Linked DNA regions of Homo sapiens: regions 1, 2, 4, 5, 6 and 7 are each linked to region 3. Evidence: promoter capture Hi-C in 16 types of primary human blood cells and fetal thymus (Javierre and others, 2016). All regions are on one chromosome and are shown on one strand. The core of a region is centred on a gene start or on the middle of the fragment in contact, and the rest is flanking DNA. Distances in the headings are between cores, read along the strand shown.

What was found. Contacts are between HindIII fragments. The CHiCAGO score rates a contact against its expected background, and 5 or more counts as called.
Region 1: a contact is called between a fragment that was not itself captured here and the fragment with the promoter of MMADHC in region 3, in 1 of 17 cell types (total B cells). The highest score is 8.8, in total B cells.
Region 2: a contact is called between a fragment that was not itself captured here and the fragment with the promoter of MMADHC in region 3, in 1 of 17 cell types (total B cells). The highest score is 5.9, in total B cells.
Region 4: a fragment that was not itself captured here is called in contact with the fragment with the promoter of MMADHC in region 3 in 7 of 17 cell types (non-activated CD4 T cells, M2 macrophages, M1 macrophages and 4 more); the score reaches 8.2 in non-activated CD4 T cells.
Region 5: a contact is called between a fragment that was not itself captured here and the fragment with the promoter of MMADHC in region 3, in 4 of 17 cell types (total B cells, naive CD4 T cells, naive B cells and 1 more). The highest score is 8.3, in total B cells.
Region 6: a contact is called between a fragment that was not itself captured here and the fragment with the promoter of MMADHC in region 3, in 4 of 17 cell types (total CD4 T cells, total B cells, non-activated CD4 T cells and 1 more). The highest score is 6.5, in total CD4 T cells.
Region 7: a contact is called between a fragment that was not itself captured here and the fragment with the promoter of MMADHC in region 3, in 11 of 17 cell types (total B cells, naive B cells, fetal thymus and 8 more). The highest score is 16.1, in total B cells.

Annotation. Positions count from the first base shown.
Region 1 is chr2:147,854,550-147,857,863 of GRCh38, forward strand. All of the region lies in intron 1 of ACVR2A (activin A receptor type 2A), which reads left to right. Among named protein-coding and RNA genes, the nearest start is that of ACVR2A, 11 kb to the left of the region's middle. The HindIII fragment of the contact is 1,088 bases long and covers 1,370-2,457 here.
Region 2 is chr2:147,967,963-147,971,015 of GRCh38, forward strand. All of the region lies in intron 4 of ORC4 (origin recognition complex subunit 4), which reads right to left. Among named protein-coding and RNA genes, the nearest start is that of ORC4, 51 kb to the right of the region's middle. The HindIII fragment of the contact is 2,410 bases long and covers 350-2,759 here.
Region 3 is chr2:149,586,111-149,589,164 of GRCh38, forward strand. MMADHC (metabolism of cobalamin associated D) reads right to left here and starts at 1,665. Exons shown (of 8, transcript NM_015702.3): 1 at 1,554-1,665; 2 at 979-1,039. The coding sequence starts at 987. It overlaps MMADHC-DT (MMADHC divergent transcript), which reads left to right and starts at 1,248. Exons shown (of 3, transcript NR_110240.1): 1 at 1,248-1,740. RefSeq lists enhancers at 876-2,075, 1,392-1,711. The HindIII fragment of the contact is 5,011 bases long and covers 1,384-3,054 here.
Region 4 is chr2:151,208,562-151,212,056 of GRCh38, forward strand. No RefSeq gene overlaps it. Among named protein-coding and RNA genes, the nearest start is that of RBM43, 52 kb to the right of the region's middle. The HindIII fragment of the contact is 4,587 bases long and covers 1-3,495 here.
Region 5 is chr2:147,928,719-147,932,158 of GRCh38, forward strand. ACVR2A (activin A receptor type 2A) reads left to right here. Exons shown (of 11, transcript NM_001616.5): 11 at 1-2,104. It overlaps ORC4 (origin recognition complex subunit 4), which reads right to left. Exons shown (of 14, transcript NM_181741.4): 14 at 1,678-3,440. Among named protein-coding and RNA genes, the nearest start is that of ACVR2A, 85 kb to the left of the region's middle. The HindIII fragment of the contact is 328 bases long and covers 1,664-1,991 here.
Region 6 is chr2:147,948,683-147,951,749 of GRCh38, forward strand. The region is part of intron 8 of ORC4 (origin recognition complex subunit 4); the gene reads right to left. Among named protein-coding and RNA genes, the nearest start is that of ORC4, 71 kb to the right of the region's middle. The HindIII fragment of the contact is 4,488 bases long and covers 1-3,067 here.
Region 7 is chr2:151,301,904-151,305,054 of GRCh38, forward strand. LOC107985827 (a long non-coding RNA gene) reads right to left here. Exons shown (of 3, transcript XR_001739220.1): 3 at 1,818-1,905. Among named protein-coding and RNA genes, the nearest start is that of NMI, 14 kb to the left of the region's middle. The HindIII fragment of the contact is 9,466 bases long and covers 1-3,151 here.

The DNA.
Region 1 (3,314 bases), core at 664-3,163, 1.7 Mb before region 3:
CCTACTTTCCTACTGACTCTTCTTTGACCTTTGACAGCCATTAAGATTTCACTTTACTCACCCTAAATTAAAGAGGGTGAAATAGGTATTCATTCACTTAACAAATCAATATTGAACTACATGCTAGACACTATGGTAAGTGCTTGGGATACATTATTAAACATGAAGACAGATATGATTATGCCTTTCTGAAGCTTATAGTCATAAAGTAAGTAGTCAAATGAACAACATAATTACAGATTGTCATACGTGCTCGGACAGAAACTAACAGGGTGCCGAGAGGATTACTCTTTATTTGCCTTATCACATATCACATCTGTTTACTTTATCTGCCTATTTCTTTTTTTTTTGAGACTGAGTCTCGCTCTGTTGGCCAGGCTGGAGTGCAGTGGTGCAATCTTGGCTTACCACAACCCCAGCCTTCCAGTTCAAGTGATTCTCCTGCCTCAGCCTCCTGAGTAACTGGGACTACAGGCATGCGCCACCATGCCTGGCTAATTTTTGTATTTTTGGTAGAGAGGGGGTTTAACCATGTTGGGCAGGCTGGTCTCGAACTCCTGTCTCAAGTGATCTGCCCTCCTTGGCCTCCCAAAGTGCTGGGATTACAGGTGTGAGCCACCGCGCCTGGCCTATTTCTTATTTGTCCTTTCTAATATTAGAATGTAAGCTCTACTGGGGTGGGGAAGGGTGTGACTTTTTCTTAATACTTCCAATGCATGGCACAGTTTCTGGCACAGAGGCGAAGCTCAGTGAATATTTAACTAGCTGCCTGAAGCAATGAATGCAGTGATGGGACTGGAGAGATAGGGACAGGATCATGCAGGTCTTTGATGTAACAGGGGAAGGAGTTAGAATAAAATGCAAATGGCAGTGTGAAGCAAAGAGTTTTAAGGAAGAGCAGATCTGGGTTATGTGTTGAGATCACTTTGGCAGCTATCTGAAAAACATACTGGAAGAGTGTAGGAGGGAAGAGGTGAGACCATTAGGAACCTGTTGCATCAGTGTAAGCTAGAGAGACTCTCCTAGATCCCTTCCAGCTTTGAACATTCTCTGATTGTATTGTAAAGCTTGCCTACACTTATCAGTCTTCCTTTTGTATCTTATTTTAGTCATCTTATTTTTTTTCCTACTTGTCATTGCTTAAAAAAAAAACATGAATGGATAGGCTTCTTGTGCATATGTGAACTTTGAATACAAATTCTCAGAAAAAAGAAATAATGAAACGCAGACTAGAGGTTATTGAATTTTTGTAACAAATTTCTATCTTTAGATTTTGTACATTTGCTAATTTATATATATTCTTATTTAAGCATTCCTATTTCTCTCTGAAATTGGCTTTACTCCTTTTCAGGTGTCTATTTTTTTCATAAGCTTACCACCTCTTTATTGTTTCAGATGTAATATACTATATTGTTGGTATGGTTGAAGATTCAGAAGTAGAAACTCAGTGTATTTTATATCTTAATTCTTAGAAATTTGATATCTTTTCAGGTTATCAAGGTCTTACAATAAAGGCTGAAAGGATGAATACTTAATACTTTAGGCTATTAGTTTTACTCAGGGCTGCAGCCTCTAACTCTAGGTATTCAGCTTGAATGTTTTTATCTGGAAAGATTTCAATCCTCTCCTGTTGGTGGTAAAGAGGTGGTGCTTGGCACAGGGAAATAAGCTCTTTATTATGGCAGAAGTTCAGCTGTAGCATCTGTGCCTAGGAAAAACTGCATTATTACACACAGGTAAAACCAGAAGAGATGTTAAACTTTACTGAATTTAAAAAATATAATGGTGCCTGCCTCTTTTCATCTGGTTTCACTTGGATTTTTTCATTTTGGAAGCAGATAAAGCTAACCATCTTTGATAAGCCACCTTCTATAAAGTTCAGTTTTACCCTATAAATACTATAGGTCATTTTATTTATTATTACCTTAAGTAAAATAGTTCTAGAAGAAGAACTGGATGCTAGGCCTTTCTTTTACCTGGTAGTGGAGTTTCATACTTCAGGATTAGTGAATACAGTTTGCTAATTAATTTTATATAACCTAAGACTCAAAATGAACTTGTAATAATTACTAAAATTATATGAGGAGAAATGAAAAGTCAATGAGTAAATGAGGACGATGATAAATAATGAATAATTGCAAGATAACATATACAAGACGGATATGGTAATAGTAAAGCAATTTGATTAGTGGGCATTCAAAGTAGAATAAAACACCTTTCTGAATGGCCAGAAAAATGGTTGAATAGCCACTGACCATCTTTTTAATTCTATATTATATAACAAATCTTTCTTGGTAATCTTTACTTATTTTCCTCCTCAGTTCTTTAGAGATACATATACTTGGTTTGGGTGTTGAATTAGGAAATTAATTGCTAATTGTAGTTTTTGTTAAAATGTAAATAGAGATTGCTTATTAGCTGAGAGGGTTAGAAATAATAGAGGAAATTAAATTAGCAAGCTTTTACTGCTGGGAGGGCCTAACAAACTGTCAGGTACTATTTTCTCCAGTAACTACCTTTATCGGAATGATGCTTAGGAAGAATAAACTACTCAAGCTGATCCTCACTTCTGAAGGATGGAGTAAAAGTAAAAGGTTAGGGTCAGAGAAGAAGGGTGGTTATACTTTATTTTCCTTTTGAATCATTGAAGAGTAGTTTTGACTTTTTACCTGCAGATCTTATTTTTCACTATTGTATCCCTAGAATATCCCCACATCAAGAACTGTAGTTTCTAGTTAGTCTAGCAACATATATTTAGCAGTCCTCAATTAGACAGTATTTTTGTAATTAATATCTAGCCTTGCATCTGTGATGGAAGGAAATCAGCTCACTAAGCCAGAGCACAGAAGAGTAGAGGAGCCTACTCTGTTATAGATAATAGAACCATTGAAACGTTATTTGTCAGTTAGGGCTGGTTAATAGAAATAAAAGCTCATTTTGTTGGTACATATGTAGCCGTTTGTTGGCAAGAATGGTTTTCTTTAAAAAAAAAAAAAAAAAAACAAAAAAACCCCTAACACTTGCTTTATCTTCAGATTCAATGAAAGTAATTAATTATGCAGATCTTTGGGTTGATATAGTAGAAAGAGCAAACATTCTGCCAGGAGAAAACCTGGGTGTTGTGCCTGTCTACCACAGTATGGAATATCATGTGAACTTGGGAAAATTTCATTACCTTAGTTTCTATTTTATAGTACCTACCTCAAAGATTTGAGTAAGGATCAGAGGCTACACACACAAGCCCAAGCATACTCACATAAACATATATACATGCGACTTAAAAAAAAAATTATTTTAAGTTCAGGAGTACACCT
Region 2 (3,053 bases), core at 305-2,804, 1.6 Mb before region 3:
GAACAGAATAGAGAACCCAGAAATTAATCTGCTTATCAACAGCCAACTGATTTTTACAAAGGCCAAGAACACTCACTCATCAGGGAAAGGGCAATTTCTTCAATAAATGGTGCTGAGAAAACTGGATATGCAGAAGAATTAAACTAGATTCCCATCTCTCATCCTGTACAAAAATCATTTCATAATAGATCAAAGACCTCAATGTTAAGACCTGAAACTATAAAACTACTAGAAGAAAACATAGGGGTAATACTTCAGGACACTAGTCTAGGAAAATATCTTATGAATAAAAACTGCAAATCACAGACAACATAAAAAAATAGACAAATCTGCTAACATCAAACTCAAAAGCTTCTGCATAGCAAGGGAAACAATCAACAGCATGAAAAGACAATCTACAGAATAAATGAAAATATCTGCAAAGTATTCATCTCATAGGGATTCATATCCAGATTACACAAGGAACTCCAGTATCTCAAAAGCAAAAAACCAATTTGCTTAAAAAACAGGCAAATTATCTGAACAGACATTTCTGAAAGGACATACATATAGCCAACGAATACATGAAGAAATGCTTAACATCATCAATCATCAGGGAAATGCAAATAGAAACCACAGTGAGGTATCATCTCACTCCAGTTAGGATGTCTATTTTCAGAAAAACAAAAAATAATAAATGCTGGTGAAGATGCAAAAAAAAGGAACTTTTATACACCATTGGTGGGAATGTAAACTAGCCAATATTGAAAACAGTACAAAGGTTCCCCAAAAACCACTACAAATAGAACTACCATATGGTCCAGCAATCACACTACTGAGAATTTATATAAAGGAACGGAAATCATTACATCAGAGAGACATCTGCAGCCCGTATTTATTGTTGTACTATTCACAATAGCCATGATATGGATCAACCTAGTTGTCCAACAACAGATGAATGGATAAAGAATATGTGTATATACACACAATGGAATACTGTTCAGCCATTAAAAAAAGAAATGAAATTCTGTCATTCACAGCAACATAGATGGAACTGGAAGAAGTTATATTAAATGAAATAAGCCAGGAAAAGAAAGTTAAACACCATGCGTTTTCACTCATCTATGGAAGCCAAGAAAAGTAGGTCTTACAGAAGTCAAAAGTAGAAGAGAGGATAGGGTAGGAAGGGTAGGAGGAAAGGAGGGATAGTGAGAGATTCAATAATGAACACAAAATTACAGCAAGATAGGAGGAGTAAGTAACAGTGTTGTACTATCATTTTTCTGTAACTATAGGATGACTATAATTAACAATAATATTTTCCAATAGCTAGAAGAAGGATACTGGATGTTCCCCACATAAATAAATGATAAATGTTTGAGATGATTGATATGCTAATTATTCTGATTTGATCACTATACACTATATGCATCAAAACATCACTATATATCCCATGAAAGTGTATAATTATTATGAGTCAATTTAAAAATAAAGTATAAAAAGGTTAATTACTACCTAAAATGACTATTTTATGAAATAAATGTTTTGAGCTATTTAAGCCAGACTTAGACAAGAAGAAAAGATTCTTAGAAAACTGAAATGCAATATCAGATTAGAAGAAGCAAATGACAGCACTGGCAGTAAAGAAAATCACATTGGCCATATGACAGAATGCTGAGAGAGGGGGAAAAAACATGAAAAAGATGGTAGACATGGAAAAATGAAAACAAAGATTTAAGAACTGAATATTCTAATATTGGATATTCATTTTTTCTAATCATAAGAAAAAATGAAAGAATATTCAAAAATAAAAGAATATTATTCTTTAGTGAACAATACCCTCTAAATTTATACTAAATCAGTATGCAGAGTATTAGTGAATTTTATGATTAACTGTTAGACATAGTCTATGAATAACTAATGCAATAAAAGAAGAAAAGGAATAGAAGTATGGAGATAGGGAAGGAATAATTAAAACTGTCTTTGTTGACAGATAACATAACTGTCTAAGTAAAAAAATCTCAAAGAACTGACAAAAAAACTAATGGAATTGAGAAGCAATTATAGCAAGGTTGCAGAATACAAGCAAATATAGAAAAGCCAAGTGTTTAGCTATCTACTAGCAATGAAGACTTAGAAAAGGAAATAAAAAACACAGTACTATTCGCACTAGAACCAAAAAAATGAAAAATTAGGTATAAATCTAACGAAACATGTGTAAGATCTTTATTAAGAAAACTACAAAAACTGACAAAAGTCTTAAATAAATAGATACTCCAAGAACGGGAAGACTAAATATAGTTAAGATGTCCATTCTTCCTATTGTGATGTATAAATTTAACTCAAAATCTAGCAATTCACAAAGATTCCCAGAATTTTCTGGATATGTACAAAGTGATTCTAAAGTTAATATGAAAAGGCAAAGTATGCAGACAGCCAACACAATACTGCAGAAGAACGAGGTCAGAAGACTGACAGTACTTACCTTAAAGACTCACTAAAAATCTACAGTAATCAAAACAATGTGATATTGGCAAAAGACAGACAAAGCAAGGGAATAGAAAGAGAACCTAAAAACAGAACCACATAAACATAGTCAACTGATCTTTGACAAAGAAGCAAAGGCAATTCAATGGATAAAAGATAGTCTTTCTCCAATTGGGCATTCATTTGCAAAAAAAAAAAAGAAAAAAAAACGAATCTAAACACAGACCTTACATCTTTCACAAAAATTAACTCAAAATGAATCACAGACCTATATATAAAATGCAAAACTATAAAGCTTGTAGAAGATACATAGGAAAAAATCTACATGACTTTCGGTTTGGTGATGAAGCTTCAGATACAATACCAAAATCATAATACATGATAGAAAAAACTGACAAATTAGATTATTAAGATCAAAGACTTCAGTTGGGCACAGTGGCTCATGTCTGTAATCCCAGCACTTTGGAAAGCTAAGGCAGGATTGCTTGAGCTCAGGGTTCAGGACCAGCCTGGGAAACATGGGGAGACCTCGTCTCTACACAAAATTAAAAAAAAAAAATTAGCCAGGTGTGATGGTGCATGCTTGC
Region 3 (3,054 bases), core at 415-2,914:
ACTTAATATACCATGTTCAATTACAGAAATAGCATCCTGGCTAAATGCTGCCATATAAATCTTCCTAGCACACAGCTCTAAGTGAATAATCACAATTTAAAGAATGAAGTCTAAATTACTGAGTTCGGCATTCAAGGCTCTCATTTACTTGGTACCAACCTCACAATTCAACCTTATCTCCCACTTATCTCTTTCATGCAGCTTACATTCAGGTTGGCAGGCAGCAGTCACTTTTCAGTTTTTCAAAGGGGTAGGCGGGTTGGGGAGTTCTTTGAATATACCTTCCTGTCCTTCCCGCTCATATTTTAGACTATACAAATCCCACCTATCTTTCAAACCTCAAGTTAAATGTTTCCCTCATGAAGTGATCCCAAACTCCTCTCCACAAAGACTTGAATCTGCATTGCACCTTCGTGTAGGTTCTAAAAAAAATTATTACTTTATACTTTAATTGTAGCTGTTTTTATATATGTCTTATGACCGCTACATATGAATTCTATAGATAGGATGTGTCTAATCACTGCAAAGTTACAGTCAATAAATATCTCTGGTGTGTGAGAGTATCTCCTATTCTTATTTTGTAGGATTTAGAAGGTCACTTCCAATATGGAAACTGTTTTAAAAAAAAGAAAAAAAGATTAAAAAAACCCTTCAGTTTAGCTAACCCAAAAGCTAAAAAAGGGCCTAAACATAGATTCTAATATTTACTGAAACGCTGTATTTAAAAAATACCGAAAGGGTGCTTGAATTTCCACATCTGTACAAATGAAATTGTATAAATAAGTGTATTTGCAGTGCAAAGAATGCTACCATCTTCAAAGCATAACATAATTTCACACCACTTGCTTCCCTTGACATTTTTGATACATTATATCTAACACTATACCACCCAATGCCATCATAATTAAACCCGTTCTTTCATTCCTAACATTCCCAAACGAGTTTACTATGCTGATTCTTAAGAGATAATTTACTCACATTGGCCATCTCCGCTGGAGAAGATAGTTCGCAAAATAGCTTTCCTTTGGTAAAGTTATTTCTGGGAAAGAACACAACAAAACAGACGAGTGATCGATTAAACTCTAACAACAGACAACTGAGGTAACGTCCACTCTTCGAAGGTGTGTCGTCCACCACGTCAGGACCAAAGTCCAAGCTCTCCCCGTACCCTAAGGAGGCCAGAACTCGCCCCCATGCCAGGCACAGATCCCCCAGCCCGGAGCCGGCAGTGCAGCTCAGAGCCCTTCCGGTTTACAGCCGCGGAAAAACAACTCGGACCAGATCCGGGAGGGGAATGGGGGCTGGGTGGCCAAAATTCAGTCCAGAGGATCGAAGCGGCTGCTTTAACAGAAGTTGGGGCTGCGTAACAACAGCTCCAAGCAAAGCTTCAGGCTGATCGGAAAGATGAGGAAGCAGAAAAGAGACTAAAGACAGACGGACAGGATGGCTGGGGACAACGACAGGGACCCAGTGAAAATACGGGCAATACCGAGGGCTGTAACCCTAACACGGGCAAATTTGGAGGGGCTAACATGGGCGGAAACCATCCGTACCAGTCACCACCACTGTCTCCAGCTGTCCCAGAACCGGACTCTTCCTGCCATCAAAATGGCGGCGGCGACGGCAGCGGTGGTAGCACCTACGCTGGCGGTGAGCAGGCAAAGGAAGTTGCTTCCGAGCGCGTCGAAACGATGATGCGCACGCGCAAAGTAGGCCTACGTGGAGCCGACCTGCCATTGGGTAAACGCAAGGGAGGAGAAAAGGTGGGGCAGGGGTGATTTGGGTGGATGGATAGGAGGGCTTCCGACCTGCGTTAGGCGGGTCAGTTAATCTTCAGTAACTCCTTGATGCGTTTGATAGTCCTCCCAACTTAAGCCTTCCTTACTGCCTCCAGGAGATACAGTCTTCTGTTCTTTTTGTCATAGTTGTTTATTTTTCATGAATCGCTGTTTTTGAGCATAGGGCACTTACCTCTTTCTGTGTCCCCAGCCCTACCACAGTGCCAGGCTCTCAATATGCTCGATAAATATTAGGCGATTGATTTGTAAATCGTGTATCATTTTCATGTATCTAATACTTTTTTAAAAATTGATTAAAGCCCATAAGCCCATATTTTATTCCAGATGTCCTTAGTTTTCGACCTGGTATTCTTTTCCATTCCAGGATCCTGTCCGGAGTACATCACCATGTCTTCCAGGCTCCTCTGGACCGTGACCGTTTCTCAAACTTTCCTTGTTTTTGATAACCTTAATAGTTTTGAAGCGACTTATTGGTCATTTGGTCAAATGTCCTTCAATTGGGTTTTGCCTGTATTTTTCTCATGCATTAACTGAGGTTATGGGTTTTTCTTGAGTTAAGAGGTAAGGTAAAGTGATCTTCTCATCACATCACATCAAGGGTATATACTATCAACATGACTTATTACTGTTGATGCTAACCTTTATCACCATTATTACAGTGTCATACAGAAAAGTTTTATAGTTCTACAAAGATCCCCTTTGTTTCATCTAGTAAGCCCTTCCACCTCCCTATGTAGGGTTTGTCAGGTTTCTCCACTGTGAAGTTACTGTTTTTCTTTTCCTCTCCATACTATACTATTTGGAAGGACATCTCTCTGTGCAGCCCAAACTATAGGAATGGGAAATTGTTATACTCCACCTTTATGAGGACAGAATATCTTCATGAATTATTTGGAATTCTTCTGCATGGGAGATTTGTCTGTACTGCATTTATTTATGTATTCAATCATTTATGTCAGTATGGACTCATGGATATTTATTTTACATTTTGGGTTATAATCCAATACTACTTTATTTTGTTGTTCATATTGGTTCCAGCTTTGGCTATTGAGATTTCCTTTAGTTGGCATTTGTGTCTTTTTGACAAACCCTCCTCGTTTTATGTTTATTGATTTTTTTTCTTGAGCATTTTCTTAATTTCTATAAGTTGCTCCAGGCTCATCTTGTATATTCCCTGCCCCAATCCTAGAATCAGCTGCTTCCCCAAAAAGCCAAGGGTACTTTTAATGGAAAATGATATTAGAAATCAAGATTT
Region 4 (3,495 bases), core at 815-3,314, 1.6 Mb after region 3:
CTTGGAATAATAAATTTACAGGGTCCTGAAATCTTATTTTCTTTTACAATGATGTATGTAAAGAATGTTATTTTCAATTTTAAGACAATGTGGTATAACTTTATACAAGTAAACTTGAAAATCTAGATAAAATAGAAAATATAGAAAAATTAAAATGAACAAAATTGACTTAAAAGACTAATTATTAAGCCTAAATTCATCTATAAATATAGAAATAGTAAAAAGTTGTGGGGGAAAAAAAAAACAGTGTGCCATAGTAAAGGTACTAGTCCAAGATAGTTTTGCAAGAAAGTATTATGAAATCCTCAAGGAGCAAATAACTTCTATGTCATATGAACCAAGTAGCGTTTTTTCAAATAATACAAGAATGGTCAGCATGAGGAAATCTACTGATGCTAATGGCTTTATTAAAAGATTACAGGGGGCTGGGCACAGTGGCTCATGCCTGTAATCCCAGCACTTTGTGAGGCTGATGCAGGCAGATCACTTGAGGTCAGGAGTTCCAGACCAGCCTGGCCAACATGGTGAAACCCCATCTCTACTAAAAATACACACATCTGTCAGGTATGGTGGCTCATGCTTGTAATCCCAGCTACTTGGGAGGCTGAGGCAGGAGAATCACTTGAACCCAGAGAAAGTATTTAATAAATGTACCATTAATTTTGAATTTTAAAAAATCTTATTAATAGAAGAATAGAAGAAAATTACTTAAATTTGATAAATTGCTTCTACCAGCAACCCTCAGGAAACTTCATACTTAATGATGAAAGCTAACATTCTCATTAAAGTTAGGAATAACTTTAATGCTATCATTAATACTCTTTCACATTGTTTCTGTTTAACCTGTCCAAGCTAAATGACTTGTTATGAGTCTTTGTTTTCAGCACTTAGTCATTTACACAGATACACAGTCTACATCATGAGGATCACAAGTAGAAAAATTAGAAAGATCAAACAAAAACCAGGTGCTGTGGCTCACGCCTGTAATCCCAGCACTTTGAGAGGCCGAAGCAGGTGGATCACCTGAGGTCGGGAGTTCGAGACCAGCCAGACCAACGTGGATAAACCCCATGTCTACTAAAAATACAAAATTAGCCAGGCATTGTGGCGCATGCCTGTAATCCCAGCTACTCAGGAGGCTGAGGGGAGAACTGCTTGAACCCGGGAGGCAACGGCTGCAGTGAGCTGAGATCACGCCACTGCACTCCAGCCTGGGCAACAAGAGTGAAACTCCATCTCAAAAAAAAAAGTTCAAACAACAAATGGATTTTTTAAAGAGATATTCAAAATGTAATATCCAAATCTTTTAAGGATTTTTGTTGTTGTTTTTATTATTATTATTATGATACTTTAAGTTCTAGGGTACATGTGCACAACGTGCAGGTTTGTTACATATGTATATATGTGCCATGTTGGTTTGCTGCACCCATCAACTCGTCATTTACATTAGGTATTTCTCCTAATGCTATCTCTCCCCCAGCACCTCACCCCCCGACAGGCCCCGTGTGTGATGTTCCCCGACCTGTGTCCACGTGTTCTTGTTGTTCAACTCCCACCTGTGAGTGAGAACATGCGGTATTTGGTTTTCTGTCCTTGTGATAGTTTGCTTAGAACGATGGTTTCCAGCTTCATCAGATTGGTTTTTTTGTAAGGCTGCCTAAGAAGCTCTGTCTACTCTAAATATAATTCTCTGCTGTAGTCATTTAGAAATTAAATAAAATACATTTTCTTACATACATTGCTTGATGGGAATATAAGTGCAATGACAATCAGTAGAGTAAAAAGCATGTTAATGCCTCAGGTTCCATAGCAGCTTGGTTAACTACGGCGTAAATTCATCTCTCCAGACCTAATTCAGGAGAAATGTCGTTACAGTAACTGAACAGATCGTAAGCTCCACAGGCGCCATGCTTTCCGCGGAACAGTTTTCATTGCTAACAGAGAATGCTGACTGCATTTATTTTAATAAAAGTCTGTGGCTTGTGTACAAGTAGAAGAGTATTTTTTCACTACATTAATTTTATATGTTTTAGAATCTAGACTAAAGGCTATAAATTAGAGGAAAGACGACTAGAATATCCTGGGTCTCTGTGACATAGCACCTTTGAAATAAGTATTACAAAAAGAAAGTACAGCAAAATAAATACGGTAATATTGGATTATAACCCAAAGTATAAGACAAACACCCATGAGTCAATGCTAGTATAAATAAGTGAGTGAATAAATAAATAGGGAGAGAAAAGATAAATCTACCATGCAGAAGAATTCCAAACAATTTGTATGGCTATTCCACCCTCAGGGAAGTGGAGCCTAACTCCCAACTTCAAGTGTAGGCTGCACATCGTGACTTCCAACAAGTACAGCAAGCAAACGGGGGAAAGAGTAACTTGACAGTGGAGAAACCTGATAAACACACCTAAGCGAGGTGCTCCTGGTAAACGTCAAGAGTGATAAGTCATGTGGATAGCATGCGCCCTTAATAGGATGTGATGAGACTGGCACTTTACCTCCTCAAAACCCATAATCCCAGCCTAATCATCAGAAAAACATCAGGCAAATCTCAGTTGAGGGGCATTCTACAAAATGCCTGACCAGTACTCCTTGAAATTGTCAGGGTCATCAAAAACAAGGAAAGTTTGTGAAACTGTCATAATCAGGAGGAGCCTAAGGAGTTGTGATGTCTAAGTGTAATGTGGTCTCCTGGATGGGAAACTGGAGCAGAAAAAGGACTTTAGGTAAAAACTCAGGAAATGTGAATAAAGCATGGACTTTAGTTCATAATGATGTATCCATACTGGTTCCTATATTGTGACAAACATGCTATACTAATGTAAAATGTTGATAATAGGGCAAACTGGGCATGGACTAATGAGAACTCTGTACTGTCTTCACACTGTTTTGTAAATCTGAAACTATTCCACAATTAAAATGTATTTAAAGATAACAAAAAGGAAATACAGATAAATGAGCTGATGTATTTTTTTTTTGTTTTTTGTTTTCTGTTTTTGAGATGCAGTCTCACTGTTTTGCCCAGGCTGGAGTGCAGTGTCATGATCTCAGCTCACTGCAACCTCCACCTCCTAGGTTCAAGCAATTCTCCTGCCTCAGCCTCCTGAGTAGCTGTGATTACAGGCACGCACCACCATGCCCGGCTAAGTTTTATATTTTTAGTAGAGACAGAGTTTCACCATGTTGGCCAAGCTGGTCTGGAACTCCTAACCTCAAGTGGTCCACCTGCCTCAGCCTCCCAAAGTGCTGTGATTACAGGCATGAGCCACTGTGCCGGGCCTGAACTGACGTTATTTCTGCAATGCTACTCAGCAAACAAAGTGATAAAGTAGAGCCTTGACACTTACAAATTTAATAGTCATTGGATACCTTGATTAATAAATTAGCTGGGCAAATAATTTTAAATTGGAGATCATTTTCTATTATAATTTTGAAGACATTTCTCCATTATCTTAGAGTTTCCAGCATTGCTGTTGCAATATTGAT
Region 5 (3,440 bases), core at 578-3,077, 1.7 Mb before region 3:
AATTGATGGTAGGCAGGTGCTAAAGTGCTTTTCAAAACAATATTACGTTAGAATACAATTGGATTCTTCCTCAAATTTATACAGGCCAAAAAGTAAAACATTAATTTTCTGAATTTCCAGATTACCAATCAATTAATCAACAAATAGCCAGTATTATGCTGTGTATTTCTGTCAGGTCATTTTAAAATCCATGTTAATTTTATAAAAGAATTTTTTACATGTCACTGTCAGGAGCTCACTGTGAATGTGTTGTCTTCAAATGGTTATTTAACCACACAGTACACTACATTTTACATATATGTACGTAATCTCTGGGAATAGTAAATTAATTATGTTATTTATAAACAATACATAGGTCAACAGACTTTAAGCAGGGAGGAAAAGAAGAGTAATAGCGTCTGTGTGCTGCAGACCATTCAGAACTGTCACGTGTGTCCCCATGGTCTCATTCATTGTATTCCTAGCAATTCCCTTTTCAATGTTGAGTTCACCTCTTTATTTCACAAAGTACTTGGTCTCTCAATTTCTTGATCTGGTTTTGCTTCCATTTAAAAACTAATCAAGAAGGGAAAATATTGAGAATGTGCATACAAGAAAATCATTAATTTCCTGAAGATGAATTTCTACCTGTTGTGAACATTTAACTTTCTTTTTAAAAGTTAAACAAAAATAAACAAGGGATATTATGATGAATGTTTGGCTTATGTGAGTACTAGAGATAAAATTTTTAAACCCAGTTATTCACAATATAAAATGTTTTCAAGTTAGAAAAAATTTTTAGAAATCCTGGGTATTGTATTTAACTGTAGCTAACCAATTTTAAAACTTGTATTCTTTTGAGAACTATTATTAATAGAAAAACTTTTTATAAGCAGTAAAATAAGAATGTTCCAGTGACTACCTGTCCTTATACCTAGTCTTGTTAAAACTTTCTTTTGCAGGGTATTTAGTGTTTGGTTTACAGTCAGTGCAGAGTGGGCAAGTTAACAGAAAGTTTGAGCTAGAGATACTGGAAAAAAAAAAGATCAAAGAATGAGAAAAATGGTGATCCATTTTGGGGCAAACTGAGACCCCCCAAATAACTCTTTCCTCATGTGTATGGTGCTCCTCATGACTCGTCTTGTATTTTGCCTTTCTGATACCCATCAGAACTGCTGCTGCTCTAACTTATACTCTTTACCTTGCCCAGATCTCCGCGTAAGGAATGCTTTATGATCAACTTGCCATAGGACTGATGGATTAACCAGTGTTCGGCTTTATTTGAAGTCTATGCCCTGCACAGCTCTTGTATGTATTTTAGATGCTAGAAGTTTTTTTAGCATGTGATGTGTGATTCTTGTTTGAATTCTAGGTACCTTGTGAATTCCAGAAAAAGAGACTGTGCTTCACGATTGTTAGTCCCATGAACTTGCACTATCTATCTTTCATGGTGATGTTTTGAAAATACAATCAGGAAAAAACCCAACACCTTTGGAATTTAAAATAGAATCATATCATGAAATTTAAAAAGAATCTCTTCTGTTGCATTTCCTCACCCCTAAGTAACAGCTACATTTAAGTAAAATGCAGGTGGTAGGGGAAAAAAAACCATGGCGAGATGGTGGTTTAGTGGAATAAACTGATTACTGGTTTTTTTGTTTTTTTTTTTTTTTTTAAAGAAAGAAGCTTCATCACAGATACTTTCCAGTTTCTCTTTTATACTTTTTTGAAAGATTACTTTTTAGGAACATTTGGTATGATATGCATAAAATTATTTATCCATTTATGGGCAAAATGATACAAGTAGCATCTTGATTGAACATCATTTACCTCAGATATTCAACCAGCAGTACGTTTTTTATGCAGTCTCAACCCATATCCCATTTGTTACCTCTCAGAATATTGGTAAGCAGTTATTTTCGCTTTACTCTGTATTTCTTGTGTTTTGGGCACAGGTTATTGTACTACTGTCAAATCGTACTTGCTATTTTTTCTGCAAGTATTTAACAGAAAGCTTAAAATCCCCATAAAACCCCACCTTGGATAAGTGATTGTTAAATATTGTACAAATAAAATGTATGCTATCCCCATTCCATCCCCAAGTTAAATAAAAAAATGAATACGGTATGATTTGCATATGCAGTTTTTCTTTAGCTATGTTTTTTTTTTTTTTTATACTTTAAGTTTTAGGGTACATGTGCACATTGTGCAGGTTAGTTACATAGGTATACATGTGCCATGCTGGTGCGCTGCACCCACTAACTCGTCATCTAGCATTAGGTATATCTCCTAATGCTATCCCTCCCCCATCCCCCCACCCCACAACAGTCCCCAGAGTGTGATATTCCCCTTCCTGTGTCCATGTGATCTCATTGTTCAATTCCCACCTATGAGTGAGAATATGCGGTGTTTGGTTTTTTGTTCTTGTGATAGTTTACTGAGAATGATGATTTCCAATTTCATCCATGTCCCTACAAAGGACATGAACTCATCATTTTTTATGGCTGCATAGTATTCCATGGTGTATATGTGCCACGTTTTCTTAATCCAGTCTATCATTGTTGGACATTTGGGTTGGTTCCAAGTCTTTGCTATTGTGAATAATGCCACAATAAACATACGTGTGCATGTGTCTTTATAGCAGCATGATTTATAGTCCTTTGGGTATATACCCAGTAATGGGATGGCTGGGTCAAATGGTGTTTCCAGTTCTAGATCCCTGAGGAATCGCCACACTGACTTCCACAATGGTTGAACTAGTTTACAGTCCCACCAACAGTGTGAAAGTGTTCCTATTTCTCCACATCCTCTCCAGCACCTGTTGTTTCCTGACTTTTTAATGATTGCCATTCTAACTGGATAAAATACTGGCAAAACGAATCCAGCAGCACATCAAAAAGCTTATCCACCATGATCAAGTGGGCTTCATCCCTGGGATGCAAGGCTGGTTCAATATACGCAAATCAATGAATGTAATCCAGCATATAAACAGAGCCAAAGACAAAAAACACATGATTATCTCAATAGATGCAGAAAAAGCCTTTGACAAAATTCAACAACCCTTCATGCTAAAAACTCTCAATAAATTAGGGATTGATGGGGTGTATTTCAAAATAATAAGAGCTATCTATGACAAACCCACAGCCAATATCATACTGAATGGGCAAAAACTGGAAGCATTCCCTTTGAAAACTGGCACAAGACAGGGATGCCCTCTCTCACCACTCGTATTCAACATAGTGTTGGAAGTTCTGGCCAGGGCAATTAGGCAGGAGAAGGAAATAAAGGGTATTCAATTAGGAAAAGAGGAAGTCAAATTGTCCGTTTGCAGACGACATGATTGTATATCTAGAAAACCCCATCGTCTCAGCCCAAAATCTCCTTAAGCTGATAAGCAACTTCAGCAAAGTCTCAGGATACAAAATCAATGTACAAAAATCACAAGCATTCTTATACACCAA
Region 6 (3,067 bases), core at 143-2,642, 1.6 Mb before region 3:
ATAGTAATGCTTTTAGACTCTATTTGTATTTGTGCTATTTTTCCTTAAAAAGAAATCAGGAATCAAATTTACTGTCAAAGAACACTAAAAACCAAAGGATAACTAATATGTACTGCTTGTAAGGACATACGAAGTGTTCTTAAATGAAGAAAATACTTCCACAAAACTGATAGGCATTCAAACTATCCAAGACATCAAAAGCACAATAGGTAAGCTGTCTTCCTAAGTCACATATATTGCAGGAACTGTCATTCCTAAATCTCTTTTTAATAATGAACTTGAGCAATTTTTCAAAATATATTATAGTACACAGCATATTATATATAATATATATAATTTATATTATATATGTATATATACATCTATATATATACAGTATAGTATAATATATATTTATTACTTAAGTTACACTCCAAGGTATACAACCAAGACAAATGAAACCAGATAACCACAAAAAAAGTGTATGTGAATGTTTGCAGCAGTATTATTTTTAATAGCTTAAGAAATATAAACAACCCAAATGTCCATCAACTGATGAATGGATAAACAAAGTGTGGTATATCTACACAACAGAATATTATTTGGTAATAAAAAGGAATAAAGGGCTGATATATGCTGTAACACAGATCAACTCTGAAAACATGTTAAAGAAGCCAGTCACACAAAACTATACGTTGTATGATTCAAAAATTACTAAACAGTCAGAAAGTGGATTAGCAGATTAGTGGTTGCATAGGGCTGGGGAGGGAACAGGGGATTTGGGGTGATCACTAAAAGGTACGTGGCTCTTAAACTGTGGTGATAAATGCACAACTCTATGAATAAACAAAAACCCTGTTAATTGTATAATTTAAATGAGTGAGTTGTATGGTATAAATTACATCTCAATAAAGCTGTTTTAAAAACAGTGACATGATATTTGATGACTTTAAGGAATTACAGCTAATATAACAATTATATTAGGGAAATATATTTTTAAAGAGCTCTTATCTCCTAAAAATACATTCTAAAATACTTACTGATAAAATGATATAATACCTAGTTTTTGCCTCAAAATAATACAGGAATGAAAGGAGATGTTGAGGATAAATAAAATTAGTCTGTAGTAATTGAATCTTGGCAATGAGTGGAGAAGGGAATTCAGGGCTCATTATTTATTCTTTCCTATGTATATTGTTGAAATGTTATAAAGATTTTTAAAAGGGGAGTAGTTTAAGCCCAGAAATATACATCTCCACATCTAGCCAGATGACTCTCATAATACCTACGTGAAGAAATCATGATATAGAGGAAAGAATTCAAGTGATCAAAATGGGATCATGGTTAGTTTGGGAAGGTGGACAGGAAAGACTAATAGCCTGAGGTAGGAGGTGGGAGGGTGAATAAAAAATTTTGAATGTTTTTATGAGGTCAAAGAAAAGTATAGTGCCAGCATGAGAACTAAAAGACAAGAAAGGTTATATTCAGAGATTCAGATATTGTACATTTATTTTCTATTAAGAAAGAGTTCTAGGTCACCCATATAGGTAGACAGTGGAAGTAATAATCTATACAAGCAACAATTCAGACCCTAAATTTGGGAATGAAAAGAGATGGAAGTAAATACTGTCTTTGTAGTAGGCAGTAATGACAGAAGTTGGCAATGTGGGCATACAGGAACTAGTAAAAACAAAACAAAACCAAAAAACAAAAATGGAATTACTCCCAATGGGGAAGAAGATGCTTGCTGGCAAAGTCACTACTCCCTCTATACTTTTGTTCTCTCCCTATAAACGTGGATACACAGATAAAATTATACTTGAGGCCAGGCGCAGTGGCTCACGCCTGTAATCCCAGCACTTTGGGAGGCCAAGGGGGGTAGATCACGAGGTCAGGAGTTCGAGAGCAGCCTGGGCAACATGGTGAAACCCCATCTCTACTAAACATACAAAAATTAGCCAGGCATGGCGGTGTGTGGCTGTAATCCCAGCTACTCGGGAGGCTAAGGCAGGAGAATTGCTTGAACCCCGAAGGTGGAGGTTGCAGTGAGCCGAGATTATGCCATTGTACTCCAGCCTGGGCGACAGAGCAAGACTCCATCTCAAAAAAAAAAAAAAAGAAAAAGAAAAAAAATTACACTTGAAAGAACTACACAGTTGGAGAATTATATATATACAATAAAAAAGAACATCTGATAACACTGCTAAGAAGTTACTGGCATTTTATTTGGTCCGTTATTGGGTCAACAACACTCACCACAGCCACTTCCACCCAAAGGAAGATTTTTTTTTTTTTGGCAAGAAGGAGGATGCTTCTTTGATCCTTGTCATCGCCTGCTGCTTTTGGCAAGGAGGAATAAAGATATGTGGAGCACCAGCCAGTGATGTATGAGGGATGTTTATACTAAAGCCATGTATCATAAGCTCTAGAGCACAGGAAAGGAGGGGCAAATGACAGTCACTCTATAGAGAAACAGCACTGGAAGGAGGACTGTTGAAATATGAATTAGAAAAAAGTTTCACTTTTCTGAAAAAGAAAAAGGGTTGTAGGAAAGGAGATGTGAACATGTAAATGTGCCTGACACATCTGCCGAGAATGGAGGGGGAAGAGGATTGCAAGAAAGCTATGGAGGCATGGCAGTCATAGCATGAGAAAAGAGACAACTTTGCTATGGTTTGGATATGGTTTGTCCCCACCAAATCTCATGTTGAAATTTAATTGCCAGTGCAACAGTGGGAAGTCACTGGAGTGGACCCTCATAAATAGATTTAATGCCTTCTTACTGGAGTGAGTTCTTGTTCTCATGGGGATAGATTAGTTCTTGAGACAGTGAGTTGTTATAAATTGAGGTTCCAACTCCTATCTGGTTCGTTTTTGCACATTTCGGTTCCCCATTTGACCTTCCACCATGTCATGCAGCATGAAAACCCTTGCAACAAAGCCAGTGCCATGCGCTTGAATTTTTCAGCCTGCAGAACTGTGAGATAAATAAACTTCTTTTCTTTAAAAATTACCAAGTCTCAGGTATTATGTTATAGCAACACAAAATGGGCCAAGGCACTCTTCAATACCAGTTTTATCTGAATTC
Region 7 (3,151 bases), core at 17-2,516, 1.7 Mb after region 3:
TAGGTGACTACAGTTAACATTGTATTGTATATTTCAAATTAGCTAGAAGAGAGGACTTGAAATGTTCCCAGTACAAAGAAATACAAATAAATAAATACTGGAAAGAAATGTTCTCAGTACAAAAATATAAATACCCTAAATACCCTGACTTGATTATTATACATTCTATGCCTGTAACAAAATATATGAACCCTATAAAAAGGTACAAATATTATATATCAATTAGAAATTTTTAAATTAACTTTAATGTTATTCTAGTAGTCCAGTAAGGAAGCAACTTTAGGGAAGCCCATACTTTATTAGCCCTAGATCATTGCATCTATGTGGCCATCTCCTAGCCTTTAGGTGGGAGGCAGAAAGCAGCAGGGCGTGCATGCTAGCTGTGATGGTCCCATCTCCTGGAATATTGTGCTGCTGACTGAGGATTTCAGATAAAGCCTGCTCATTACCAGTTGTACCCACAGATGTCAAATAACAAGTGCCAGTAACAATCTGGCATGGGACTGTCTTCAACTGGTTGAATTAATTAATAACTACTACATACCAAAATATGAAGAGTGTGATTCATGTCCAACTGGGAGGAAAAAAGGACACACGAAAAGGCAAGAACAACTTTGTCACAGACGGGACATTTTTCATCAGGGAAAGGAACTTTTTTACATAAACTAAAGTGTAGACATGAGGTATAAAATAGTGAGATCATCGCCACCAAAACTCCGTGTGGAACTGACTCCCACTGAGTTACACACCCCAGGCAAAGAGATGGGACTTTCATCAACTCCCAGGACTAGTTAATAAGCCTCCTTGCAATAAACTTCTTTTTGGAAAAAAAAGATAACTCATTTACAAGGGAACCCCCCTGCTGTGGTACAGACATAAACGTCTAGAAAAATTACACTTTCTTATATTTCATTCAGATTAGCTTCACTTTTTGGGAAAAAAAGTAGAAAATCTTTTATATGCTATTAATCTTTAGATCTGTTTCTGCTGTCTGAAACTTTTTCTTGGGGCACACTGCTATGACAAAAAAATTAGATATGGTTACTGAAGAAAACCCTAGGAAAAAAATAAGAAAAATATTGTTCAGTGAGGGCTAATTAAGATTACAGCCAACCTATGCTTTTATGAGCATAAACCAAAGTAACATTACTGGGAGATACACAGAAAGAATCACGTTTTCCTGAGAAATCTCTTAAGAAATTACATCAGTTCTCTGGACACATGGAGGAGAGGGGGTGTGCCATTGTGGAGGCTGTGACTCAGCGGCAACCTGATTTTTCATCTGCTTTGACAACAGTGATAACATAAAATGTGTCTGGAAAGGGAAAATTCATTCTCTCTACATCATTCTGCATAGCACCATGCTCTGCACCACATGTGGTGAGGTCCTTACCAGAAATACTGAAAATACAGGGGGGCTTGCAAGGTGTAGGAGAAACGTCTTCCCTGGTCTTCTTTTGCAGCTAATTTACAACATGGCCTCAAAACCAAGCCACCGGAAGGAGGTAGTTGGGGTAAGGAGGGTGAGTTGTGAAGGGAAGATGGGAGGCAGAGTCTCTTGTCCATCTTCTGCTGTTTCTTTTTTTTTTTTTTGAGATGGAGTCTCACTCTGTCACCCAGGCTGGAGTACAGCGGCACAATCTCGGCTCACTGCAACCTCTGCCTCCCAGGTTCAAGCGATTCTCCTGCCTCAGCCTCCTGAGTAGCTGGAACTATAGGCACGCGCCACCACGCCCAGGTAGTTTTTGTATTTTTAGTAGAGATGGGGGTTTCACCATGTTGGCCAGGATGGTCTTGATCTCTTGACCTCATGATCTGCCCACCTTGGCTTCCCAAAGTGCTGAGATTACAGGCGTGAGCCACCGCGTCCAGTATCTTCTGCTGTTTCTTGACTTGTGGAAATGCCTGCATGTGTGTGAAAAGCACAACTTCTCTGTAAGAGTCTATCTTGGTTATTAAGCCCAGAGTCTAAGTAGTGTCAAGCCCATTGATTTACAAATTATATCACTCTGTCCACCCAAAGGCCACCTGGCCATTGTGATATAGAGTAGCTACCAAAGCAACTAAGGTGGTGTTTTCCAAAAAGAGTGACCTGTGAATACTTGTTGAATAAGGTAATATTAACCTACTTGTGGCCTTGATCTTACCCTTCTTCCTATTTAACCACAGCCCTGGCCCTAAGATACCCTGATCCCTGAAAGAACAGCAGCTATGTCTGAGAATAAAAAGCATCTCAAAGAATTCTAGGCTGTCAAACAAAATCAGGAAATGTTGGGAAACTTTTAAGTGATACAGTGGTGACTTTTGCAGGCCCAAAAGAAGTCTGTGGCCTTAATGGATCTATGGGCTACAGGATTCTTATCAAAATAATTTTAGTTAGATGAGTCAATAAATAAAATGTGCCATATAGATGCAATGGAGTATTATTTGGCCTTAAAAAGGAAGGAAAGTCTGGTATAGAATAGATTATGTATGAACCTTGAGGACATTATGCTAAGTGAAATAAGTCATCTACAAAAGGACAAGTATTGTGTGGTTCCATTTATATAAGGAACCTAGAATAATCCAATTTACAGAGGAAATAGAATGGTGGTTGCCAGGGGATGAGGGAAGGAGTGAATGGGGAGTTATTGTTTAATGAGCATAGAGTTTCAGTTTGTTTGTTTTTTGTTTGTTTTTGTTTTTATTTTTGTTTTTTGAGACAAAGTCTTGCTCTTGTCCCCCAGGCTGGAGTGCAACGGCGCCATCTCGGCTCACTGCAACCTCCACCTCCTGGGTTCAAGCGATTCTCCTGTCTCAGCCTCCCAAGTAGCTGGGATTACAGGCGCCTGCCACCAGACCCAGCTAATTTTTTTTGTATGTTCAGTAGAGACGGGGTTTCACCATGTTGGCCAGGCTGGTCTCGAACTCCTGACCTCAGGTGATCTGCCCACCTCAGCCTCCCAAAGTGCTGGGATTACAGGCGTGAGCCACAGCATTCGGCCAAGTTTCAGTTTTGCAAAATGAAAAGAGTTCTGGAGATGGATGGTAGTGATGGTTGTTCAACAATGTGAATGTACTTAATACCACTGAAATGTACACTTAAAAATGGTTGATGATAAATTTTGTTATGTGTATTTTACCATAATTAAAAAATAAAAAGTAAAAATTG